Regions from separate parts of the Homo sapiens genome. Here region 1 is linked to region 2. Evidence: promoter capture Hi-C in 16 types of primary human blood cells and fetal thymus (Javierre and others, 2016). All regions are on one chromosome and are shown on one strand. Each heading gives the region's core, a stretch centred on a gene start or on the middle of the fragment in contact. The rest is flanking DNA. Distances are from core to core; before and after follow the strand shown.

Region 1 (4,121 bases), core at 1,242-3,741, 100 kb before region 2:
TATTCTTTTTTACAGACAAATTCCATTTTAAATACATTTCCTAACATTTTATTATGAAAAATTTCAAACCAACAGAAAAGTTAAAAGAATACATCAAATCCCTGTATATCTGTGTATCGCCTACCTCAATAAAATTGTCAAAGTATTGTCATATTTATTCTCTATCTATCTATGCTTTACAATTTGGTTGTAAATTGCGGACATCATGGTGCTTTGCTCTTAAATACTTAAGTCTGCATCTTCTGAGAATAAAGATCAGCTCCTACAAGATACAATGTCATTGTCACATCCAATAAAATTAACAATAATTCCATATATCTACTATCCCATTCTTATTTAAATTTCTTCAGTTATCCTAAGAATGTCTTTTATAGCTTTTTCTTAAAGCAGGATCTAGTCTGTGTTCACACAAAGCATTTGGCTATTAGGCCTTTTGGTCTCTGTTAGTCTAGAATAGTTGCCTTGCTTTTCTTAAAAAAACAAAAAACAAAAAACAAGTTTTTAATGGCATTGACTTCTTTAAAAGTCCACATCAGTTTTCTTGTAAAATGTTTCACATTCTGACTTGACTGACCTTTCTTTAATGAGGTTATTTAACTTGTTCCTATATGCCCTCCCAACCTCCCCTTCTCTCGTAAACTGAAAATTAGGTGTTGGGGCTTAACTGAGTTCAGTGTAAAAGTTGCCGCACTATCAATAATGCTACTAAGTGTGGACACTCAAGATGGTGGCTAGTAGAGTTCCCCATTCAGAAAGTACAATATTCTCTTGTATATCTTGGTAAAGGATACCCAGGCAGGGCATTGGTAAATCAAGTTTAGCCTAAAGCCACTTCCTTACATATTTTAAGTTCAGCCTAAAGGTTTATCTGTACATGACAAATTATAACCTAAATGGAGGTGTAGATAGACTATAGTCCACTTTTGTGCCAATCACTGAGTTTTGGCCAACCAAAGAAGGCCAACTGTTCAGACAGTGTTCAAATAAGGCAAATGCCAAGCTATACCAGTCCCGCTGTTTCTGTACCTCATTTCCGTTTTCTATATATCATTTTCCTTTTTCTGTCCTTCAATCATCTTCTATCTCTTGGCTTCACTGGAGTCTCTGAGCCTACTTGGAAGGCTGCCTGATTCATGAATAATTCTTTGGTCAATTAAACTCTATAAAATTTAATTTGGCTAAGGTTTCCCTTTTAACAGATGATGTCAGAAGTGAGATCCAAAGTAGAGCTTTTGGTGACCTCCAGGAGCACCAAGTGGCCAAGCAAGGTTCCCGCCAGGCCCATTGTGTTCATTGTTCTCTGGCAGTGACTGGGGATCCTGGTAAGTTCTCTCCAGGATTCCAAAGCTCCATGGATTTGTGTTCTGAGCTCTTCAAGTTTCTTTGAGCTAATTTATGATCCAAACTGTGTTTGGAAGGCATGACAGAAACTGAACTGGATTCAGAATTGGATTGGATTCAATAATTAACTGGCTTGGATCTAGTTAGAGGTTTATAAGAGACCTCTAACTGGGTCAGAAAGAAACCAGTAGTAAAAGGCAATGCTGTAGGAGGTGTAAACTTTGGCTTTGGGAAATTGACAGGGATTTTTGTGTTCTACCTCCTTTGTTTCTTTCTTCTTGCATGCTTTGGGAACGAAAAATCACTGGCTAAGTTGATCAAGGGGGCCTGAGAGCCAAAGCCAATATTTGAGGTAAAAATGAGATCCTTAATTTCTGAAGAACTCAGTACCTTCTGGTTTATCGATGGGTAAGTATTAGGCCCTGGAAGCAACAAAGACTTACAGAAATTATGAAATTTTACTAAAGATAAGTTACAGTAGAATGATCCAAACGAACAACTCTGCACTTGAAGAAGTGCATTTGAAAATGAGGGCTTTCAAATTAGTCTCATCTAGGGATGCCTAGTGATATGCAGAAGTTCTAAAGAGACTTTAATATTTTAAAAGGCTTTTTATAAAAGGCAAATAAAAAGCTTAAGTGACTGATTGATAAGAAAAATTGAATCTGCTGACCTTTTAGTTTTGTCATCATCCTGCCCTAATAGCAGAAAGAAAGCTAGCCTAAAGCGTTTATAAAAGGAAAGGCTTCTTTTTCAGATCTCTCCCTGCTGAGTCCAGGCATAAAGGATGCTTTCTCTGCCCTATTCCTTAATGGAGTCCACTGTGAACCCAGTAATTTTAGCCAAGAAACAGTAGCTAAGTTAAACGGAACACCTATTTAACTAAAATACACCTTTCTGGAATATGATTGGCTAACCTGAAACCCTTTTGTAAAAGAAATGTACACCTATTAAGGAATCTCCATTTTTAAGGATGTCTGCCTATGTACATTGGAAATTTTACCACTGTTTTAAATTTACATAATAAATCGTACTTTTGTCTAAGGTGCTTTTCTGGCCATCTTGTCTTGACTGAACTTTTATGTGAGCACCATTTTTTTTCCTTGATTTGAGCAAATGATGACACAACTGGTTTGTAAAACTACTAACCCAAGCAGGACAAAAATTAATTGAATACCAAGAAAATACTTTGCCAGATTTTCATGTTAAATCAGCCAGTACTAAAATTGTTTGGATATACTATTTGAATAAACTCTATGGTCCAAGTCAAATTCCCTATGATAACCCATCAGTTATCAGTACTATGCACCTAAATAGGAGAAAAAATGGTATTTAAGAGGACATAAGTCCAGTGTTAAACGTGGACTCATGGAGAACCCAGATAGCCTCCTTGTCCTTCCTGAGTCCTTCAAACTTTCCATATTAAAAGCTCTGCATTCCATGAATCATCATGGAAGAGATAAAATGATCCAAATTAAATATATCTATATGGTGACTGTTCTAAATTGCTAAAATAGTTTATGACCAATGTTTAGTTTGTCAAATCCATATTCCTGGGAGGACAATCAAAACTTCAAGTACATTTTCACTACCTGACAGGCCATGTAAACATTTATAGAGGGATTTCATTTAATTGTCATTTTCAATGCACGTTTTCTGGTTGTATAAAAGCTTTCTCATGCAAGAGGGCTGTTGTTATAACAGCGGCTCATTATGCCTAAGTATATGTTCACAGGTAAAGAATATTTTTTATAGTCCACTGACTGAAGACAACCAACCCCTTCATAGCCTAGAGCTTGAAAGTTGGATCTTCTGAGAACATTAAAGAAAGACTGCCCTTGCCATATATACTGCAACAAAATTTGGTGACCTTGAACCTTGGGTTTGTAATCTCACAACTCAGAAAGGTCTCTCCACACTCTTGGAACTGTACACCCATTGGAAACCTTACGGTAAAGCTAACCAGGGATGTTTCTCCCCATAAGAAGACAGCATCCTTGACATGGACAGCTTTGTCCCACGATCAGGGATCAAGATTTCTCTGCTATCATGAGACTCTTATCTATCTATTTTTTCCTTCCTTATGCTTCTGTAAACAATAGAAGTGGAAAGGAGGTCTATTGTGTGCATTCATGGGGTATACTTTTATTTGCAAGGGATTTTGTGCCAGCTTTGTACATCAACAGCCTATGCCTCGATAGATGGATGACGAAGGCCCAACATAGGTGACAAATTTTAATGATACATTTGTTACCTCATAGTCAGAAACAGAACATTTGTCTACTCCTCTTAACCTACATCATGGGTTAAAGAGAACATTGCCAGGAAGTCTTCATTCTTCTAGATGGGTAACATTTGTTAGGTGCCTTTTTCCATGGTTTGAAGTAAATTAGGAAATTGTTAGAAATGTATCCCTCATGATAGGCTCTATAGCAGATTCTACTGTAAAGGCTATGGTTACACAGCAGACTTTAAATTCTCTTGTGAAAATTATGCTAAGTAATAAAACTGCTCTAGATTTCTTACCGGCCAAACAGAGAAGTATCTTTGTAGTTGCTGGCACTTCTTGTTGCCCGTGGAGGAATAAATCAGATATTATAGAGAGTCAGTTGTAGGGGATTAATGAACAGGCTGCTTGGTTAAAGCAAGCAGACTTTTTGTATAGCTCATTATTTGCTCTATTTGATTTTAGTTGGTTAGGTTCATGGGGACCCTGGCTAAGGAGCATACTCCAAACTCTTGGTGTTATCCTTCTGATGATCATAATAGTAGCCTCCCTG
Region 2 (4,253 bases), core at 98-2,597:
TCCTCCCGGGGACACAGCGGCTGCAGGAACAACATGTAATTGATAACAAGCCCAGCGCCGGCCAAGGGCTTGCCATTGGGTCAGCGTGCAAATCACGGGGGTGGCGGCGGGGGCTGTCCTTCAAAATAAGAGTCTCCGGTCCCTGAGCCGCCCGCAGGCCCCAAAGTCGCAGAGTCCGGGCGTCCTCACACCTGTAGGGCGGCAGGGTCTCCCCAGGGGCCACCTGGTCCGGGGGGACAGGGGGAAGGAGATTTGAGGCTCTCAAACAATTGTTGATTTTGTCACCTCCGAGGGCCGTGGGAGAAAACAGCCCCTCTGTGCCCTCCGTGAGAGGGGGGTTCCATGAGTAACACCAAGGCGGGGAGGGAAGAGTGAACCGGACCACCATATGGGATGGGGACGGCCTCTCTGCCCCGCCGCCGCCATCCCTCGGTCAGGCCATGGCTTTGGTAATGTTCGGTCTGAGCGGACGGGGACTCAGCGTGGAGTGAGACGCGTGAACGGTGCGGGTGTGCGTGAAGGGGTGTGAGTTCCTGTCGTGTGACTGCGTGTGCGGGGCGTGGTGCGCGGCAGCCGCTGTGGCTGTGCGGGAGGCTGTCCGCGAAGGACTCGCGCGTGGAGCCGCCGTGGGTGCCGGCGGGTGAGGGGAAACGTGCGTGGGAAATGAAGAGAGCCGGCTCAGACCCCTTCTAGAGTCCTGGACCGCTGCCCGCTGGGCACCATGCCCTCGTCCCACGCCCCCCCCTTGCCCCCGACACTGCTGCGGTGACCGACAGTAACCCCTCCGTCTCCAGCCCCTCCGCCCCCCAACCCCGGGCTGGCCAGCGCGTCCGCTCTCCCCCTCCTCTCACCAGGCCGCGCCGGTGCCCACCATATGGGAGGGCCGGCCCGCAAGGCGCGCCACGGAATCGCCCGGCCAGGCACCGAGGCGGCGGCGCGGGCCTCAGCAAAGTGCTGGTGGGCGACCGGGGCGGGGGGGGTCACCTCCCCCGGGCCAGTCCGACCCCTGCCCACCTCCGCGGGGGCCCATCCCGCTCCTCCGACATTCCTCCAGCACTCGCGCGGTGCCTCCGAGAGCTGCGCGGGAGCACGGCCACGCGCCCCGAGGCCGGCCAGCCCTCTGATCACCCGGGGCCGCGTCCACGCGGCCGGCCGGCCCCGCCGCGCCTCTCCCACCTGAACTTGGCGCACGCCGGACCGGCGGCCAGGCCCCGGCGGTCCTGCGGCCGGGCGGGCTGGGCTGGGGGCGGCGGCTAGACTCTCGGTCCGGCGGCGGCCGGGGGCCGAGCCGCGGGTCCTGCGCTGGCTCGATCGCCCGCCGGCCCGCGGGTCGCTGCGGCGGAGCACTAGCCCGCCCGCAGCTCGCTGGGCACTCACTCCCCGCCGCTCACGTGACGCAGCGGGCGCCGCGAAGGCTCGCAGGAGGCTCGGCCCCGGGCGCGCGCCCCATTGGCCCGCGCTGCGCGTCACACGTCCCGCCCCGCCCTGGCCCCGCCCTGGCCCCGCCCCGGCCCGCCCGCGCGGCTCCCGGACTTGAGCGGCGGATGCTCGGGGATCCCGGAGCTGCCAGACGCGCACGCCCCCCAACACGCTGCCTGGTCCCTGGCCCGCAGCCACCTCCTTGCTTCCCACCTCTCGCCGCTGTCTCGCGGCGTCCACGAGGGCCGGCTTCTAAAGCTCGGTTCCCAAGGTGAGAACGTGAGACTGGCCTGAAGACTTAAGAAAAGCTCTGAGATCGCCCCAAAGTGCAGTCTGCGTGATTGAGCGGGAAGCGCTGGGGAGCCTGTCTGGCCCGGTCTGGCCCACGTCCCCACCTTCATCCCCAGCGCGGTACAAGCAGCTCTGTCCCCCGCTGAGTGTCAGATAAATCACTTGCCTAGAAGGACGTATTTTTGGATAAATACGGTATTGGGCTTTCAGCAGGACAATCAGTTACCCTCCGGAAATTGCGCGCGCTCTGCGCTGCCACCCTGCCCTCCAGGACTAAGGAGGTTTGCTGACCGGCCCCCCCCCCCCCCACCTGAAACCAATGACACCTTGTCTCTGGGGCACCTTTCTGAAGACCAAACAATGCTTCGCAGTCTACAAAAGCGTTCGTAGACTGCTTTAGTCCGCAGCAATCCTGGCTCGCATTTGGGTTCCCGCTTAGAGACAGGAAGAGTAAGGCTCAGAGTGGCTTGCCCAAGAAAAACACGTGGGCTGACGGTGCTAGGCACCCTGCTGTGCCCTTTAATCCACACTCCAGCTGGATCCTCAGCCAAGCACTTTACAGATGAAGAAACCGACTCAGAGAGGGCACCAGCCCTCCCCAGCCCCACAGCTGGGAAGGAGCAGGTAGAGAGGTAGAGCCAGGTCATCTTGCAGACACCCCCAGGCCACCTGTGCAGAGCTGTCCTACTGAGCTTCCTTCCTCTCCCCTCCTGGCACTGGGAGGTGGGGAGCATTTTCTCCTGCTTCTTCTTGAAGACATTGCTAGAACAGGAATTTTTAACCATACCCTTTCCAGGCTCTCTGGAATGCTATAGGTCTAGGCTTGCTTGACCAGGGATCTGGGGACACTGTGCACCAGGTCAGTGCCAGGGATTCAGCTGCTGCTGCCACTAGGAGCCAAACCAATGCGTTGCCAGAGGGCTTTAAGGACATTTGTGTTGAGGATGGTGAGAGGCTTTCTAGTTCACAGAAGTTGGAATGACCACTCTGGCATTACAGCAGCCCTGGCTAGCCTGGGCAGAACAGTGGAATTTGTCCATTTTCATAAGAGAAGAGATAGAGGCCTGTATTCCTCATTTTGTCTCAGTGCAGGTCTGGATTGGGCATAGCCACAGCACTTCTCCATCTGCCCTGCCCGCCCTCGGTCTTCACTCCTCACATACTCTCAGTCTAGTGCCTCCCATCTCCTTGGTGAAAGCTGCAGCAAAAGGTCAGAAAAAGCTTGGAAGCAAAGACACATCGTTAGCACCTTCAGCACACAGGGAGGAGGCCCCACTGGCTAGAAACTGGAGAACAGCCAAGATGGTCCTGTTAAAACCTGAGTCAGATCAGGTCCCTTCTGGGTTCAGAAGCTTCCAGCAGCTCCCAACTCACTCAGAGTAAGTAAAGCCCAAGTTTTCACCACAATCTTTAATGCCCTACAGCTAGGTACAGCATTTACCCCAAACCATATCTAAGGAGAAAAGCTCCCTCAATATAGTGGGGAGAATCTATCATTGAGATTCCTTGGCAGAAAGGAGAGAACAAAGTCAGGTGGTGCTCTTCAAAACAGATGACCAAAAACAGTAAAGATTTATCTTCATAGCAGTGAAAATCTCTAAGTTTCTTTTCTTCCAAAGCAATTCCTTCCCTACTTCTACATAATCAAGTATAGAAAAGGGCCTTGGAAGGATATAAATTATATTGGTTAAATATTGTATGACCTTGCCTATAAAACCATTTGGGCCTGGTGCCTTTTTGGAGTGATCTTTCTCCATGCTTGAATTTCACACATTTTACCAGGATATGTCTGACTCTAGCCTCCTTCTGTTTTCATTGTTACTACTCTATGCTTGGTGTATCCTTTTAATCTGGAAACTCAAGTCTTTCTTCGTTCAGGGAAACGTTCTTCTATTGTCTCTTGTTTCCCCCTAAACAGCTGCATGGATTGCTCCATCGCATACTCAGGTCTCTGCTCAGATGCCACCTTATCCCAGACACCTTCCTCACCCATCCCGTCTAAAACAGCACATCTGCTGCCCTCAGTTTCCTGGCCTCTGTTTATTTTGCTTCATGATCCTGATCTTTATATTATTTATTGATTTGTTTCTTGCCTGTCTCTCCTATCAGGAGACAAGCTCCTTAAGAGCATGGACTTGTATTTTTTTATTCACTGCTGTATCCCCAGAACCTAGAACACTTCTGAAACATGTTGAGGAAATGAGATTTTCTTCTTGCCCCAGTAAAGCTGCCAATGGATATGGGATCTTTGGAGAAGCTCTTCAAGGTCTGGTGCTCTCTTCCACAGTACTGTAGCCACCAATCTTGTCCTCATCCCCTGTTCCACACACATACCTGAGACTTCCAGCCTCCCCACTAGCTCATGCCTGCCCGGGGGTCTGAGCCCAGCCTGCCCTCTTCCAGGAAGCATTTTGAGGGCCCCATTCAGTGGCTCAATGGTCTGTGCACAAAGGGCCCACTGTGGCCATCAAGCCCTGTGACCTCCCACAGTGACTGACTTCTCCTCACCCTTCCCAGGTGGGAAGCAACAATTCCCCCTACTC

Evidence for each region. Contacts are between HindIII fragments. The CHiCAGO score rates a contact against its expected background, and 5 or more counts as called.
Region 1: a fragment that was not itself captured here is called in contact with the fragment with the promoter of KLF15 in region 2 in 1 of 17 cell types (endothelial precursors); the score reaches 5.1 in endothelial precursors.

What each region holds. Positions count from the first base shown.
Region 1 is chr3:126,251,265-126,255,385 of GRCh38, forward strand. No RefSeq gene overlaps it. Among named protein-coding and RNA genes, the nearest start is that of ALDH1L1, 73 kb to the left of the region's middle. The HindIII fragment of the contact is 1,038 bases long and covers 1,973-3,010 here.
Region 2 is chr3:126,356,061-126,360,313 of GRCh38, forward strand. It overlaps KLF15 (KLF transcription factor 15), which reads right to left and starts at 1,348. Exons shown (of 3, transcript NM_014079.4): 1 at 1,177-1,348. RefSeq lists enhancers at 1-649, 650-1,409 and a silencer at 1,308-1,527. The HindIII fragment of the contact is 4,432 bases long and covers 1-2,929 here.